Linked DNA regions of Homo sapiens: regions 1, 3, 4, 5 and 6 are each linked to region 2. Evidence: promoter capture Hi-C in 16 types of primary human blood cells and fetal thymus (Javierre and others, 2016). All regions are on one chromosome and are shown on one strand. The core of a region is centred on a gene start or on the middle of the fragment in contact, and the rest is flanking DNA. Distances in the headings are between cores, read along the strand shown. Region 1 overlaps C5orf22 (chromosome 5 open reading frame 22). Region 2 holds the start of NUP155 (nucleoporin 155). Region 3 holds the start of MTMR12 (myotubularin related protein 12). Region 4 overlaps C5orf34 (chromosome 5 open reading frame 34). Region 5 has its middle 4.7 kb from the start of PAIP1. Region 6 holds the start of GOLPH3 (golgi phosphoprotein 3).

Region 1 (2,700 bases), core at 89-2,588, 5.8 Mb after region 2:
TAGTGGCTACAGGTAGGTGCCACCATATCTGGCTAATTAAAAAACCTTTTTTTAGAGACAGGGTCTTGTTACATTACCCAGGCTGGTCTGGAACTCCTGGCCTCAAGTGGTCCTCTCCTGCCTCAGTGTCCCAAGTAGCTGAATACTACTTTTTTAAAAGCAATGTATCTTGCAAATTTAGGAACATATCTAGGACTGAAAGTTAGTAGAGTTGGGGGAAAAAAATGTTTGAGAGTCTTACCCAGGGTTTGAAGCCCATCTCTGTACCGTTTCTTCATCATCACCATCACACAAATCAGCGAAAGTGGCTTCTAAATCCTCTAATTGATGAATTCGAGTATCAACAATATCTACCAAATCTTCCTTTAAATACATTGAAAAGCTGAGATTATATAGTTATTCTTTCAAAAAACAAGCAACATCCCATTACAAAAAAAACTTGGCTCTATTAGTTAAAACATAATTTTCAAGTACTAACCATGGGCTTCGCCAATACACACACACACACACACACACACACACACACACACACACACACTTTGAGCAGTCTTTGAGATCACTGTGGTAATTTGCAAGATATTATTAGTTATATGATAAATGAATAAAACCCCAAAGAAACAAATGGAGGATACCTCTGTTAGGTTGGTGCCAGGTTTCTTAAATTGGTACAGCTCTTGTAAGATTTTGTACTCTTCCTGGAAAACAAAACAAAAAATCCACATACCAGAAAAAAAAAAGTTAAAATTTTTTAATGATATGCTTTAAGGAAGAGACAACCTTCCTTGTGATACAAGAACATCTTAGATAATTATTTAAAGGTATGTATGGGAGAATCAGGCAAAATGTATACTTTAGATTTTTATTGTAATAATTTTATTGTAAATATTGTAAAATTTTGTTTTATTGTAAATATCACTTCTTCAAGGCAACTCTATCCAGCTGGGCATGGTACTACTATGTAAAAATTACCTAAGGAAGCATACTTGGTGGCTAATGGGTCACGAGATGAAAATATTTTAAATAATATTCTGCTATATAAATGCCATGTCCTAGGATCTAAACAGACTTAGCTGTTTACAGGAAATATACATATCTTTAATAACAACAACAAAGAACTCCCTATGTTCACTTTGCAGCCATTTCTCTAACAACAGAAGAGATCTCTGAAGTACAAAGGCAATACTGGAGGTAGAATGTCAAAGACATAGAACCTCGGTCAGGAGGCACCACACAAGGGGAGAAAGAGGCTTGCTATACAAACTTTGTAGGATAATGTTTCCCCTTGTTTAGCACAGCTACATGGATCCATTATATAGGTGGGTACACCTGGCCCCAGTAATCCTATTTAGGAGTATTCTCAGGAAAAGGTTATACCCAAGGGCTAAAATTCATTAAGCACAATGTTGTGGCATATCTTCAGTGCTTTATTCATTATAACAATCCTGAGTTGGGTATGATTATTATTCTGATTTGATACTTGAAGAAACTATGGGTCGGAAAGGTTAAGTAATTTTCCTAAGATCATATAGCTAATAAGCAGTAGAGTTAACAACAGAACTTAACTCCCCTAACTTTTGAACATGCTTCTTTTTTATGAGATGGGGTCTCGCTGTCACCCAGGCTGGAGTGCAGGGGTGCGATCACGACTCACTGCAGCCTTGACCTCCCAGGCTCAAGTGATCCTCCCATCTCAGCCTCCTGAGTAGCTGGACCACAGGCACGTGCCACTATGCCTGGCTAAATTAAAAAAAAAATTTTTTTTTAATAGAGATGGGGTCTTGCTACGTTGCCTACGCTGTTCTCAAACTCCTTGGCTCAAGTGGTCCTCCTGCTTTGGCCTCCCAAAGTGCTGGGATTATACGCATGAGCCACCATGCCCAGCCTGAACATGCTCTTAAGAAAAAAAAAAAGATGAACATCTGTCTTTCCTAATGATATTTAAAAAATTGCTACTAAATAATAAAGTTTAATATATGCTTTTTAAAAAGTCCATTGTACCAAAGGGTATTTAGGCTATACAAATCCTTGTGTTCCCAGGTTTCCTAATAGCACTCTAAAAGGAATAACTGCCACTGAATTCCTTATGTAACCTTCTAGAAACTTTCATTACAAATATTTATTACAAATATTTAGGTGAGTAATCAGGCACATCACTGTTTAAGGAATAATCTGTTACACAGGATTTATATATAGAATATCGCTGGAAAGATACACAAGAAACTGATCACAGTATTTGTTTCTGAAGCAAAGAACTGAGGGAATGGGGATAAGAGAGTGCTGTTTTTCAATGTACACTTGTCCCTTGGTATCCGTGGGGGATTGGTTCTGGGACCTCCTGTGGATACCAAAATCTGTGGATGCTCAAGTCCCTGACATAAAATAGTGTAGTATTTGCATATAACATATGCATACCCTCTCATATACTTTAAGTCATCTCTAAATTACTTGTGGTATCTAATACAGTGTAAATCCTATGTAAATAGTTGTTATACTGTATTGTTTTTTATTTGTATTATTTTTTACTCTTGTATTGTTATTTCTAGTTGTTTTTTATTTTTTCTGAATATTTCCTATCTGTGGCTGGTTAAATCCAGGAATACAGAACCCACGGATACAGAGGGCTGACTGTATATACCTGTACTGTATGACTTAATTTTTATCCATCACCCATGTATACATTACCCCAATTAATAAATGCAA
Region 2 (2,860 bases), core at 355-2,854:
TTTTTAAGGGTATCAAGGGGGTCCTAAGACCAAAAAAATTCATAATTATCTGTTCTAGGGAAGAGGTCAGCAAACTTTTCCTGTAAAGTGCCAGAGTCCGTATTTAAGGCTTTGCAGTCTTTTGTAGAAATTACTCGGTTTAGCAGTTGTAGTGGGAAAGCATAGGCAATATGCCAATGAATTAAGTTAGTTAGATTACACTTTGGGGAGCTTTACTTCTATGCAGGAATATCACAGCAACGTTGTTGAATCTTCCAATTTATGGAGTTGAAAACTTTGTGTATTTTGTCTCAAATTAAAAACAAACTCGGTGCCAGACCACCACTTTTCAATCTATGGTCTACCAAATAAAGTAAACTCACAGCTAGAGACCCAACTGCCTATCTATATACCAATGATAAAAAATCCAGTTTTTCTTGGTATATTGGCTATGTCAAATTTTAAGTGTAGATTGGTAACATCAAAGAACTTTCAATTTTCAGAAATGTAGTCAAGTCTTTGAGGGAGTAAAAATGTAATTCAAATAGCAAAAGACCAATTTAGAGTAATTCAGTTATTGATTTGTGAAATTCTGAAGAACATAACTGGAAGCTTTCTTAGGTGAGATTCTAAATAAGAGCAGCTTTCTAAAAAGTGCTTTGATTTACCCACTCAGGTTGCCTTCTGTAGTAAATGAAGCCTCTTTTACCTCTCTGCTTTCTCCTATCCTGCTATAGTTTATACCTATCCAAATAGAAAAATTATAATGAAGCCCTTTGTCTCTGCTTGAAGCACCTTAAGGACAGGAAACACTGTGTTAGTTTGATAGTCCCAGCACCAGGCACAAGGCAAGTATTCAGTTTCTTAGGATTGTATGAACTCTTGGGTTCCTATCTCATACGAGTTCCTATACTAGCGCTGGGAATGGAAAGATGAATTAGAACTGTCTGCTATCTCTGCCACGATAAAAAGCACGGCAGCGGTCCACCTGCACTCAGCTTCTTCTTAAACACGTATTTTATACTAAGGGGCAACAAAGTCAAAAGACAGCGACACGCAAATGGAAAAGCCTGATGAATTCTAATTTACACTGAAGCCCGCGAAGAATATAGTGAGATACTGGTTTATATCCCTCTCTGTGACAGCGACCTACCAATTCTTAACTACTCTCACAAAAGCAGTTACTTGGAGAACCAAACTGCGCGCTCATGCGCGAACTCATATAGCTGCAGTTAGCGGATACCGACGCGGGAAGTTCCAAGACTCAGGTCGAGCACGCGCTTAAACCAACGGAACCTGACCAACCTCCTAGGCCAGACACACGACCTAGCTCCCACCTACCGTATCCCTCCTCCCTCCTTCCTCCTCACCCTATCCAACCCCATCCCGCCCCTCTCCTTCCCTGTTCCCTCCCCTTTATCCTTCCCTTCCTTTCCCTCCCTCCCTTCCCTAAATAACCTACCCTAATTTTACCCTGCCACACCCCAAAACCCTCAACCCCCTCGAAAGCATCAGCAGCCTCCTAGCTCCACCCACAACCTCTAGCCCCCTCCCAACAGCTTCCTCTTCCCAGGCCAGAACGGCGTCTTCCAGTTCCCCACCGGATGAAGCGGAAGTGCGTCATGTCGAGGCGCCAAGGCGCTCGTTTGGCGCGCGCGCCCTAGGCGGCGGATCTAAGCTAACTTCTTGGATCTTTTCTTGTTTCTCCTTGGTTTTTGACTTTTTCTGGACCCTGGTGTCTACGATTTCCGAGATGCCGTCTTCTTTGTTGGGCGCGGCGATGCCGGCCTCTACATCTGCCGCAGCCCTGCAGGAAGCTCTGGAAAATGCTGGACGGCTCATCGACCGTCAGTTGCAAGAGGACCGCATGTACCCGGACCTTTCCGAGCTGCTTATGGTGTCTGCCCCAAGTGAGTGATAGTGACCCTGCTTTCTCAACCTAAAGGACTCTCGCCTGACTTCCTAATTTGCTACTTATCCCCAGCGTTGGTCCCGGCGAGGATATGCTGAGATTTATGGCACTGTTGGCTGCATTTTTGGAGAACAGCAAGCAGCTTCTTTTCAGGTTTTTTCCTTTCCTCACTTTCTTCATTGTAGATACTTGAGAGGGCAAGAGTGAAGAGCAAGCTCCCAGTTGAAGCAGAAAGAGGCAAAGACCTCAACCTTAATGAGCTTCTCGCCGCTCTCAAGTGCTTATGGCTAAGGCCATATGAGAAGCATCTCCAGATCCAAGTCCCAAATTTGTTCATTTCTCCTGTTAGTGTTTGAGTAGATCGTAAGAGCAAACGAAGTTAATTTGGAAATTTAGCATGTTATCTTAAAGATACGCTTTGCTTTATATTTATTTGTTTATTTATTGAGACGGAGCGGTTCCCTCTTCGCCCAGGCTGAAGTGCAATGGCGCGATCTCGGCTCATTGCAACCTCCGCCTCCTGGGTTCAAGCGATTCTTCTGCCTCAGACTCCCAAGTAGCTGAGATTACAGGCGCCTGCCACCAAGCCCGGCTAATTTTTGTGTTTTTTAAGTAGAGACGGGGTTTCACCATATTGGCCTGGCTGGTCACGAACTCTGACCTCAAGTGATCCGCCCGCCTCGGCCTCCCAAAGTGCTGGGATTACAGGCGCAAGCCACTGCACCCGGCCAAGAAACGCTTTATTATGTGTAGAGATGTGTGTTATGAAATGCTGGAGGATCTTAAAAGAACTACCAGTGGAATAAAGAAAGAGAACAGGGAAATCACAGTGCTTATGTACAGGGAGAGTAAGGCAGAATATGTGTTGACAATATAGGTGACTGGAAAGTAATTTGTTTAACAGTTTTAAGTTATAACCAGCTCCCCACGGCTTATGGAATTACATCAGTTGCTAGAAAAAGTGACCCC
Region 3 (2,700 bases), core at 80-2,579, 5.1 Mb after region 2:
TTACAGGCGCCCGCCACCACACCAGGCTAATTTTTGTATTTTTAGTAGAGATAGGGTTTCTCCATGTTGGCCAGGCTGGTCTCAAACTCCTGACTTCAGATGATCCACCCGCCTCGGCCTCCCAAAGTGCTGGGATTAGAGGCGTGAGTCATCGTTTGTCTCATTTTTGTTTACATTTAAAATAATAAACCTTGAGGTCGGGCGCGGTGGCTCACGCCTGTAATCCCAGCACTTCGGGAGGCCGAAGCGGGTGGATCATCTGAAGTCAGGAGTTTGAGACCAGCCTGGCCAACATGGTGAAACCCCCGTCTCCATTAAAAATACAAAAATTAGCGGCATGGCGCGGTGGCTCATGCCTCTAATCCCAACACTTTGGGAGGCTGAGGCGGGCGGATCACGAGGTTAGGGGTTTGAGACTAGCCTGGCCAACATGGTGAAACCCCGTCTCTACTAAAAATACAAAAATTAGCCGGGTGTGATGGCAGGCGCCTATAATCCCAGCTACTCGGGAGGCTGAGGCAGGAGAATCGCTTGAACCTGGGAGGCAGAGGTTGCAGTGAGCCTATACTACGCCATTGCACTCAAGCCTGGGCGACAGAACGACACACACACACACACACACACACACACACAAAATTAGCTGGATATAGTGGCGGGCGCCTGTAATCCCAGCTACTCAGGAGGCTGAGGCAAGAGAATCGCTTGAACCTGGGAGACGGAGGTTGCAATGAGCAGAGATCGCGCCATTGCACTCCAGCCTGGGCGACAAGAGCAAAACTCCGTCTCAAAAGTAAATAATAATAAAATAAAAAACCTTGAACGTCATCGCTGTAAGTTGGGAACTCCTATAGCAAGATTCCATACATCCCATTTTTGGACGTTTTATTCCAAAGACACAAGCAAACGGAAGAAAACGACTGCCGTGAACCCCTGCTAACGACAACTTGGTGACTGCAGGATCATTGGACGACGGTTTTATCCTCGCCATCCAATCGTTGGAAAGTCCGGAGAGAACGCTCTCTGGATTGGTTGGAGGAAACATCTCTCCAAGTGCACTCAAGAATGGGTTGGGAGCGGGGTTCGGCCGGCAGCGCCTCGGGCCAATCAGAGAAAGCATGAGGGCGGGCTCTGCCGCAGGAAGGTGGTGAATCTCGGCGGGTCAAACTCTCCTGACGTGATGGGGGGGCGTGGCCTCCAGTTGCGGTCTCCCGGCTCTCTGGGCCCGCGCACGGGATGGGCGGGGCCCACGGGCCTGGGCGGGGCGAGCGGTGTCAGCGGCGGAGCCGGATGCGGGCGGCATCGCGGCGGTCGCGGCCTTGGGGATGGGCGGAGCCCCAGCCGCTAGTGCTGGTGGCCGCCGCTGCTGCCCCAGCTGGAGCCCGAGCCGCCGCCTCTGCGTCCGCGCGTCGCTGCTTCCCAGGGCGGCGGTATGCTGGGGAAAGGAGTAGTCGGCGGTGGCGGCGGCACCAAGGCCCCCAAGCCCTCCTTCGTGTCGTACGTACGCCCTGAGGTGAGGGGGCGCCGCGCAGGCGGGGCGTCGGGCAGGGGCGGCCGGGGCGAGGGGCGCCGGGAGCCCCTTCCTTGCAGCGGGGAGCGCCGCGGAGCGCTTCCTGCCCTTGTGCCGGGCGACGGGGCAGCCAGGCGGGCTGAGGCCGCAGGAGCGCGCTGGGGCCTCCGCGCGGGCCGGAATGGGGACCCCGGCGCAGGCAGGCAGGTGCCTGAGCGCAGGGCCCGAGCGCTGGAGGCTGGTGGAGGGGCCCGAGCCGAGAAGGGATTGCGGCCCGGAACGCCCCTGGGGATTCTGGAGAGGACCTGGGGTTGTGGGCACTGCTGGGAGGGGTAGGGCCGTGGGTCGGAGCCCCCAACGGGGCCTGCTCGGAGCCCGCGTGGGTCCGTCCTGCCTCTGGACTTTCTCAGTGAGCCCAGAAGCCCGCCGGCCTCCGCTGCCTGCGTCTGAGTGCCTCGGGTGCGGCTGGCGGGATGCCCTGCACCTACGTCCGCCTCCCGTCAGCGCTGCGGGGAGAAAAGGGGGTCGGCCTGGCCTCAGCCAGTCTCTGCTTGTCTCTCCCTTGGGAATTCTCCGCTGTCGCTTCTTTCTCCTCATCCCCTCACCATCATCCTTTCCACCCACTTCTTACTCTTCTGAATCTTCAGGTCAAGAAATTTGTTCATTCATTCAGAAAATACTTCTCGAGCTCCTACTGTGTGTCAGGCACTAAGTGCTTGTGATAGACATCAGTGAACAGGACAGAGATCTCTGCATTCCTGGAGCTTATTTGAGGGGGAAAGGAGAAACGGGGTGAATTATAGATAATTAAGTAAATTATACGGTGTAGTAGGAGGTGATAAATATCATGGGAAAGAAAAGAAATCTTTTTCCTCCTCGCAAAGGTGGCATTTGAGCCGAGACTTGAAGATACGAGAGGTCTGAGAGAAGAGTCGTCCAGGTAGAGGGAACAGCCCCCGGGAAGGTCGTGAGGTGGGAGTGTGTCTGAAGGGTTGGCGGAGCGTCAAGGAAGCCAGCATGGCAGAGGCCCATGGACAAGGGGGACAGTCATAGGAGAGGAGGTTAGAGAGATCAGAACTTGTAGGCCTTGCTCAGGGCTTCTTGAGCAATAGTTCTTAATCCAAATGCCTAATGAGAAGCCTTCTTGTTTTGCATCTGTAAAGGTTTTTTTCTGCCCTTCTCTCCAGCAGAAG
Region 4 (2,700 bases), core at 144-2,643, 6.1 Mb before region 2:
CCAAAGTGCTGAGATTACAGGCATGAGCCACCATGCCCGGCCTTCAGGTCAGCTTTAATCATTTCATTTGTATTCAAGTAACTTTTCAAAATGAAATGTGTTATAGACATACTGATTTGCTGTGGAGGTTGGATATGGTCAGCTGTGTTAACAATTAACTAATCCTCTAGCCAATTTGAAATAAGATTTGCAACCACAAATAACTGAAATTCTGTATATTTCTATAAAGTGGATAAAATTACGCAATGATTATCTTAAAATGGGGAAGAGTCTTCAGCTTTTTATGAATTTTTTTTCTTTTGGTTTATCTAATTTATTACAGTAAATCTTGTGATAGTCTTCACATTTTAGTGATTTCACTTGAGAATATTCACAAAATAATAGCTTTTTGTTACCTCTTGAATGTATTTTTCTGTTGGGTTTTATTGTGTTTCAGTCTAAGTGCTCATTCATTGCTATTAATGATTTGCCTCAAAAAAGATAGTTTCTTTAGCAAACATTTCTATTGATTCAGCCAATCATTTCAGATCATTCATTTTATTAAACTTGATACTTGTTTTAGATATGTAGTAAGTTACATATAATTACACATATGCATACAAGCATATGTGTATATGCATTAGCAGGTGTTTTTTGGTTTAAATTTTAGTAAGCAAATGCTCAGTCAGTCTTATTTTGTGTGAATATTTTTTGATAAAACTTAAACGCATTTTACTTTGAAAAACTAAAAGAATTAGAACATTTAAAATTGAACTTTAAATGAAATCCAAATATCGCCTTTATTTTGATTCTTAAATGTCACTTGTATTAATCACAAATATAAGTAAATCATTTTATTCTTGATGAATAATGGAAAAAATTTGGCTTTTCTATGACCAGTGAAAAATATTTTGAGAATTGCCCAGTAAATGCTTCACTTTAACATTTTTTCTTTATCCTTTTTTCCCAAATTGTCTTATTTTTACATTTGTTTATAATTTTATAATGTATTCAAGTTCATTTTTCAAGTATTTCTTTTAATGTATTCACTTTAGATATGTGACAACAGTAACATCATGGTGCAGGAGACTGACCCAGACTAGTCCCAGAGAGATGCCCACTCATTCGTCATCTTCTGTTCTCCAAGAAAATTGGTATTTTTCTTTTAAACTTAAATCTGTTTAGAAGAGCTAATACTTTAAAAAAAATTAAAATGTCAAATGGTAAACTGAGACTTTTTTCCCCAAAAAAACTTTCTTAGTTTTGAATATGTTTAACTCCTAAAGTATTTTTGATAGCTTAAGCTTGAAAATAATTTCTAATCAGACATCTAATTTATTACATTTCATCATATTCTATTTTACCTAAAGGTAAGAAAACCTTGCATTGAAAACTTAACATGAAAATGAGTGGCTCTTTTTATGTGACAAATTCATCCTGAAAACTTTATGGAAAAATTTAAAGGGGATTCTTAAATTTTTAGTAATGTTGAAGGAAATAAAAGGTTTAATAACATAAGCTTTCAGAAAACATTGATTTTTAAATAATTTCTGTCATATTAGTTACTTCTCCCAAATTAACTGGCAGATCAAATAAAGCAAGTATTTTAGTCCCTCCTGTGTGCTTTTCAGTGTGCAGGGTACTAGAACTGGGCTTCAAGGGAACTTTCTGTGAAAATATAAGACATTTTAGGGAGGAAATAAGGGCAGAAGTAAAAAGGATATTTTAGCCTGTGGAGATAGAAGATAGTTTTTATGGAACATATGCTATCTATTAGTATATAGTATGAGTTTTGAGGGCTAGGAATGGATCTTATAATAAATAGGAGTTCAGACCTGATGGAATTAGAAAGTCCTAAATGGAAAAATGATAGGAAGAAAGGTCATTAGAAGATTAGTGTCACTGAGAGTCTAACCTGAATATATGGGAAGACAGGGATACCAGGAACAATTTGGGAAGCTTTTTAAGTAAGTTTTGTGAGGTGACCTAACATAGTGTAGTGAAACAAAATGTAAACATTAAGCCAATTTTTGTTACCTTTTCCTAAGCCCTTTCTTAGAACAAATCAAATCATATCAGTAAGCGTTATTTGAATATCTCAGGTAGCTTAAGGATCCAGCTTTGCAGATCCCTCATCCTTTAGCTGTAGCCTGTTTGGAAGCAGAAAAGTTGCTAAAGTAACTAGCAAAAAACAATTGTGATGGAAGGAAAATTGTACTTGTCTATAAAACCATCACTTCACCATTGCTTAGCTGGCAGTTTGTAAAATATCATCAGCCTTTTTATTTGAAAGCTGAGAAGAGGCTGTCAATACACACTAAAAACTGCAAGTAGAGATTGGTGATAGTAGCTAAAGGTGAAAGCAACTAGGAACAGCAGAGGCAAGATAAAGAAATTGAGGAGTAGCTCCATTCCCCCTATAAAGCCTTAGGTATCTCCACTTCGGTTTTTCTTATCAAAGAGGGTAGGTTGAAGGAAGAAACAAGATTGTACAATAAAAAGCTACCTAAGTTGTATTCTAGTATTTTTTTTCCGCCACACCCTCCATTATTAGCTTATTAATTCAACTTTTTAGTCAACAAATAGTACGTTTCATAAAAAGTTCGTTCATTATGAGAGCAATAACAATAAAGGTTGTATTGTTTCTTACATCCAGAAAAATGCGTTGGGTTTAAAAAAAAAAAGATATTTTGCAATAATGAACAATCAGCTGGTTGTTGG
Region 5 (2,833 bases), core at 39-2,538, 6.2 Mb before region 2:
CAAAAGATATATTAAAAGAAATGACTGTGAGGCCGGGCACGGTGGCTCACGCCTGTAATCCCAGCACTTTGGGAGGCCGAGGCAGGTGGATCACAAGGTCAGGAGTTCGAGACCAGCCTGGCCAATATGGTGAAACCCCGTTTATACTAAAAATACAAAAATTAGCCGGGCGTGGTGACGTGTGCCTGTAATCCCAGCCACTTGGGAGGCTGAGGCAGGAGAATCACTGAACCCAGGGAGGCGGAGGTCGCAGTGAACCGAAATCATGCCATTGCACTCTAGCCTGGGTGACACAGCGAGACTCCGTCTCAAAAAAAAAAAAAAAAGAAATGACTATGCTCAGAGGAGACTCAGAAAGTAATTACCCAAATGGGGTACAGAAGCTGATATACTTACTATCTTGAAGTTACAGAAAGAGAGGAATCCCAGCACATAGCCAAAAACAGATTATGGTGTTAAATCGGTTATAGTAGCAAGACACGGTAGGGGAGAGAGAGAGAGAAGAGGAGAACTGGCTAGCAAAGGTGGTCTTATTATGTAGATGAAATCTCACAGGTAGCAGTCCTCAGAGAGAATGTTTATAAACCTTTAAAGGTATCAGAGTCTCAGTTAATCTTTCCTAGATGGGACAAGTGAGGGTCTCAGAGAAAGCCTCACTGCATCAATGCAAGTTGTCTCTACAGATCCAATCTTCCCCAAAAAAGGCAGGTTTTTAGCTACTCTTATATTTTCAGCCCATCCAAATAACCATCTTGAACTATGTCAAGGTGAAATATTTTGGTTTCTTTCATTAGCCTCGTGGAATTTACAGTACAGCTAAGAGATCAACGTTAAACAAGTATCAGTAGATATTGAGGAGATTCCAAGCAGCATTCCTGGCTATCTTAGACTCTAAGATGAATTGGGGCCCTAATCCAGATGGGAGTCTCAAGAGCTGACTGCCTGGGGTTACTTTTAATAGTGGCCAGAGGAAGATAATTTACACAGATGAGAAACACAAGGACAAATGCATCAGCTAATTTTTTTCTCTCTTAATGATGCCCCCACTCATTTATAATGATATGTAAGTTGCCATGATGATTTGTGCAGAAAGGAGTGAACTGAACTAGCTAGGAGAGAATTAGGAGTGATGGAATAACATGGAACGAAGTTTATTTATATGTTAGGTTTCTAAAACTTAGTTGTAGATTCACATGCAATTGTAAGAAATAATACAGAGAGAACTTGTTTACTCTTCACCTTGTTTCCCCCAATAGTAACATCTTGTATAACTATAAGTGATACAGTTCACCAACCTTAGTTTTATATGCACATGTGTGTATGTGTGTGTATGTGTGCACACTTATTTCTATGCAATGTTATCACATGTATAGACTTATGTGACCATCATTATAGTAAAGAACAAAATAGTTCCATCACAAGGTTTTTCTCATGCTACCTACTTTTTTAATAACCCCATCTACTTGCCTCTAAATTCCACTCCCTCCTTAACCCCTGGCAACCACAAATCTGCTCTCCATCTTCATAATTTTGTCATAAATTGAATCATACAATTGCTCTTGAGATTGAAATTTTGTGTTCAGCATAATTCCCTTGAGATCCATCAACATTCTTATATGAGCAGTTGTTCCTTTTTTTTGCTGAGTAGCATTCTGTGGTATGAATGTACCACAGTTTAACTATTCATCAAAGGATATTTGGGTTCTTTCTAATTTGGGGCTCTTATTAATGATGCCACTCTAAATATTTGGGTACAGGATTTTATGTGAATATAAATCTTAATTCTCTGTGAGAAATGTCCAGCAGTGCAATTGCTAGGTAGTACAGTACTTAATATGTAGAGTTTTTTAAAGAAACTGTTTTCTAAAGTGACTATAGCATTTTACATTCTCACCAGCAATGTATGAGCAACACAGTTCCTAGTTTCTCTACATCCTTGAATTTGCATTGTCACTATTGTTTATTTAAGCTATTCGAATAAGTAGGTAGTGAAATCTCAGTGGTTTTAAAAAAATTTTCCTACTGGCTAATTATGTTGAACATTTTTCATAGGCTTATGCTATCTGTATATTCCCTTCAGTGAAGTGTTCTTTCATTTATGTTTGGCCCTTTTCTAACTGAACTGTCCTTTTACAGTTGAGTTAGGTGTTTTGTTTGTTTGGGTTTTTTTCAGACGGAGTCACGCTCAACCCAGGCTGGAGTGCAGTGGTGCAATCTCGGCTCACTGCAACCTCTGCCTCCCGGGTTCAAGCGATTCCCCTGCCTCAGCCTCCCAAGTAGCTGGGATTACAAGCACGCATCACCATGCCTGCTAATTTTTGTATTTTTAGTAGAGACGGGGTTTCACATGTTGTCCAGGTTGGTCTCGAACTCCTGACCTCAGGTAATCTGTCCGCCTCAGCCTCCCATAGTGCTGGGATCGCACCTGGCTATAGTACTCTCAATACAGTTGAGTTCTGAGAGTACTTTATATATTCTAGATACAAGTCTTTTGTCAAATATGTGGTGCCTTCATCCATTTTTGTTGCTATAAAGGAATAGCTGAGGCTGGGTAATTTATAAAGAAAAGGGTTTCATTTGGCTCACTATTCTGCAGGCTGTACTAGAAGCATGGCACCAACATCTGCTTCTGGTGAGGGCTTCAGCCTGCTTCTATGCATGGCAGAAAGTGAAGGGGAGACAGTGTGCAGAGATTACATGGCAAGAGAGGAAGCATGAGACAGGGGGAGTGTGCCAGGCTCTTTTCAACAACCAGCTCTTGGGGAAACTCCTTGGGAACTAGTAAAACCATAACTCATTCGTTACTGTGAGAATGGCACCATGCCATTCATGA
Region 6 (2,760 bases), core at 1-2,500, 5.2 Mb after region 2:
GAGGGCCGGGAAGGGTGTAGGCTGCAGTGGCAGCGGATCCCCGGCCGCCGCTTCCGGCGCCTCCCGGCCCAGCTCTCCCGCGCCGACTCTGCCACATCCTCCGGTGACGTCAGCCGGGGCCGCCATATTGGAAAGGCGCCGCCGCCGCCTCCGCCTTGGAGCTCGGGGTGTTTCGGGGACTGCGGCCACAGGCAGGAAGGCGCTCCTCTCCTGCCCCGCCGACGCCCGGCCAGCCCGCTTCGCCCTGACCTGTTTCCTCATGACTGCCCCCGGCCCTGCTGCCGACGGACGTCGCCCCGGCGTCCGGATTTAACACGGAAACCCGGATCGGAGGCCGCGCGGGGAGGAGGAGGGCGACCCGGTCGGTCCTGCGACCCTCTCGGCCCGGCTCGGCGCCTCGGCGGGAGCCATGACCTCGCTGACCCAGCGCAGCTCCGGCCTGGTGCAGCGGCGCACCGAGGCCTCCCGCAACGCCGCCGACAAGGAGCGGGCGGCGGGCGGCGGCGCCGGCAGCAGCGAGGACGACGCGCAGAGCCGCCGCGACGAGCAGGACGACGACGACAAGGGCGACTCCAAGGAAACGCGGCTGACCCTGATGGAGGAAGTGCTCCTGCTGGGCCTCAAGGACCGCGAGGTGCGGGCGCGGCGGGCTGGGCGGGGGGCGGCGGCGCGGGGCCCGGGCGCCAGGTGAGCTCCAGGTAGGTGCCAGGTGAGCGCCCGAGGCTTCCGGCCCGCGCACCTGCCCTCGCTCCGAAGTCCGCGCCTGGTGGCGCCCAGCTGACGCCGAGCGGTGTCGGAGTTGGTTGACCCCCTGGCGCGGCTGGTGCTTTCTGGATCCTCCCCGTAGAGATGGCTTGGATTTTTCCTTACCCCTTTCACAGTCGCTCCTTTCATTTCGACACCCTGGCAGTTTGTATTTCTTCGTCGCCTTTTTTCCGCGTTTTTAACCCGTGTAGACCCCAGGGTGCAAATCCAACCCGGAGACTGCCCGGGAAACTAACAGCTGGAGCCACCAGCGCCACGAACTCTTTGGGTTTTTGCAGGCTTTAGGACCTGGGAGGGGTGCCCGGATCTGCTTGCTGGGGATGTTTTTTTTTTCTTCTTCTTCAGTTAAAGCTTACTGTTGGGAATTACGAAAAACGTAGGCGAAGTGGTAATAGAGGGAAAAGCTCTTTTACTGAGTAAAGTTAAGTTAAGTTTCTCATGAAACCTCCTGGTAAATGACTTTCTAGGTGAACTTACATTAGGTGAGAGATTATTTTTAGTATCGCTTTTATATTTTATCAGTTGATGAATCTCAAAGTCTTGCCGTCTTAAGAAAGGGCTTTTTCATCGAGTGCTTGAAATGTAGGTTTGTGAGTTGATCAGAGGCCTCAAAGCTTCAGGTGGGTTGAAGTTGCAATAGATAATTCTTTGTATTCTGACTTTGAAAGCGTTTATTTTCACTTCAGTGTCCAAAATTTTCACACACAGAAAAGTTGAAAAAGTGATAGATACATATGCATATATACTCTTTCTAGATTCTATGACGTTTTGCTGTATTTGTTATATTTGCCTACAAAAATGATTATTTATTTATGTGGAGACGGAGTTTCGCTCTTGTTGCCCAGGCTGGAGTGCAATGCCGCGATCTCGGCTTACCGAAATCTCCGCCTCCCGGGTTCAAGCGATTCTCCTGCCTCAGCCTCCTGAGGCAGGCATGCGCCACCATGCCCGGCTAATTTTGTGTTTTTGTTTTGTTTTGTTTTTGAGACGGAGCCTCAGTTTGTCGCCCAGGCTGGAGTGCAGTGGCGCGATCTCCACTCACTGCAAACTCCGCCTCCCGGGTTCAAGCGATTTTCCTGCCTCAGCCTCCCGAGTAGCCGGGACTACAGACGTGCGCCGCCATGCCCAGCTAATTTTCATACCTTTAGTAGAGACGGGGTTTCACCATGTTGGCCAGGATGGTCTCGATCTCTTGACCTAGTGATCCGCCTGCCTCGGCCTCCCAAAGTGCTGAAATTACAAGCTTGAGCCACCGCGCCCAGGCCTGATTTTAAGAAAGTTTTCCAAATTCAGGAAGGTGGGCAAAAAAAAAAAAAAAGTCTTACAAAACAACGTAATCTTTCTTGGTCACTGAAACTTACTAGATATAGGCGAGTTTTATATGGACCGTTTATGGACCTTTCTTATTTAGAAATCTAATGAACTAACGGTTAGCTTGATAGATACGTCTGGGGCATTTGCCATATCTTGGTTTCCCATTTCTCAGGTTTTAATAACAGTAACCTTGAAAAAAGTTGATGTTCCTCTGGCTGTGAAAGGGCTGCTGTACCTGTTTAATTATTGAGTTGTGATGATAAAGCAGGCTGTATGTGCAGTTCCTTGTTCTTTGGATGAAAAAGTAAACTAGGGGTATAGCGTCCTAGTAATGTAATTTTTAGAAAATATTCAACTTTAGGTTTCAAAATTGGAAATCTTGATTATAAACATTTGTCTTTTTTTTTTTCTTTTTTTAGACGGAATCTCGCTCTGTCGCCCAGGCCTGGAGTGCAGTGGCGCCATCTGGGCTCACTGCAACCTCCCCCTCCCGGGTTCAAGCGATTCTCCTGCCTCAGCCTCCCAAGTAGCTGGGATTACAGGCATGCACCACCACGCCCTGCTAATGTTTTTATTTTTAGTAGAGACGGGGTTTCACCATGTTTGTCAGGCTGCTTTTGAACTCCTGACCTCAAGTGATCCACTTGCCTCGGCCTCCCAAAGTGCTGAGATTACAGGTTT

What was found. Contacts are between HindIII fragments. The CHiCAGO score rates a contact against its expected background, and 5 or more counts as called.
Region 1: a contact is called between a fragment that was not itself captured here and the fragment with the promoter of NUP155 in region 2, in 1 of 17 cell types (total CD4 T cells). The highest score is 9.6, in total CD4 T cells.
Region 3: a contact is called between the fragment with the promoter of MTMR12 here and the fragment with the promoter of NUP155 in region 2, in 4 of 17 cell types (total B cells, total CD8 T cells, total CD4 T cells and 1 more). The highest score is 6.8, in total B cells.
Region 4: a fragment that was not itself captured here is called in contact with the fragment with the promoter of NUP155 in region 2 in 1 of 17 cell types (total B cells); the score reaches 5.2 in total B cells.
Region 5: a fragment that was not itself captured here is called in contact with the fragment with the promoter of NUP155 in region 2 in 1 of 17 cell types (activated CD4 T cells); the score reaches 7.4 in activated CD4 T cells.
Region 6: a contact is called between a fragment that was not itself captured here and the fragment with the promoter of NUP155 in region 2, in 2 of 17 cell types (total CD4 T cells and naive CD8 T cells). The highest score is 6.6, in total CD4 T cells.

What each region holds. Positions count from the first base shown.
Region 1 is chr5:31,538,944-31,541,643 of GRCh38, reverse strand. C5orf22 (chromosome 5 open reading frame 22) reads right to left here. Exons shown (of 9, transcript NM_018356.3): 5 at 633-695; 6 at 242-363. Among named protein-coding and RNA genes, the nearest start is that of C5orf22, 8.0 kb to the right of the region's middle. The HindIII fragment of the contact is 5,751 bases long and covers 1-2,700 here.
Region 2 is chr5:37,369,850-37,372,709 of GRCh38, reverse strand. It overlaps NUP155 (nucleoporin 155), which reads left to right and starts at 1,604. Exons shown (of 35, transcript NM_153485.3): 1 at 1,604-1,889. The coding sequence starts at 1,733. RefSeq lists enhancers at 1,612-1,701, 1,822-1,931. The HindIII fragment of the contact is 10,669 bases long and covers 594-2,860 here.
Region 3 is chr5:32,311,568-32,314,267 of GRCh38, reverse strand. It overlaps MTMR12 (myotubularin related protein 12), which reads left to right and starts at 1,329. Exons shown (of 16, transcript NM_001040446.3): 1 at 1,329-1,510. The coding sequence starts at 1,430. RefSeq lists an enhancer at 861-910 and silencers at 1,001-1,790, 1,861-2,000. The HindIII fragment of the contact is 10,159 bases long and covers 1-2,700 here.
Region 4 is chr5:43,489,064-43,491,763 of GRCh38, reverse strand. It overlaps C5orf34 (chromosome 5 open reading frame 34), which reads left to right. Exons shown (of 13, transcript NM_198566.4): 11 at 1,035-1,133. All of the region lies in intron 2 of C5orf34-AS1 (C5orf34 antisense RNA 1), which reads right to left. Among named protein-coding and RNA genes, the nearest start is that of C5orf34-AS1, 6.5 kb to the right of the region's middle. The HindIII fragment of the contact is 215 bases long and covers 1,286-1,500 here.
Region 5 is chr5:43,560,322-43,563,154 of GRCh38, reverse strand. No RefSeq gene overlaps it. Among named protein-coding and RNA genes, the nearest start is that of PAIP1, 4.7 kb to the right of the region's middle. The HindIII fragment of the contact is 3,752 bases long and covers 1-2,833 here.
Region 6 is chr5:32,171,684-32,174,443 of GRCh38, reverse strand. GOLPH3 (golgi phosphoprotein 3) reads left to right here and starts at 125. Exons shown (of 4, transcript NM_022130.4): 1 at 125-634. The coding sequence starts at 410. RefSeq lists a silencer at 232-841. The HindIII fragment of the contact is 263 bases long and covers 1,119-1,381 here.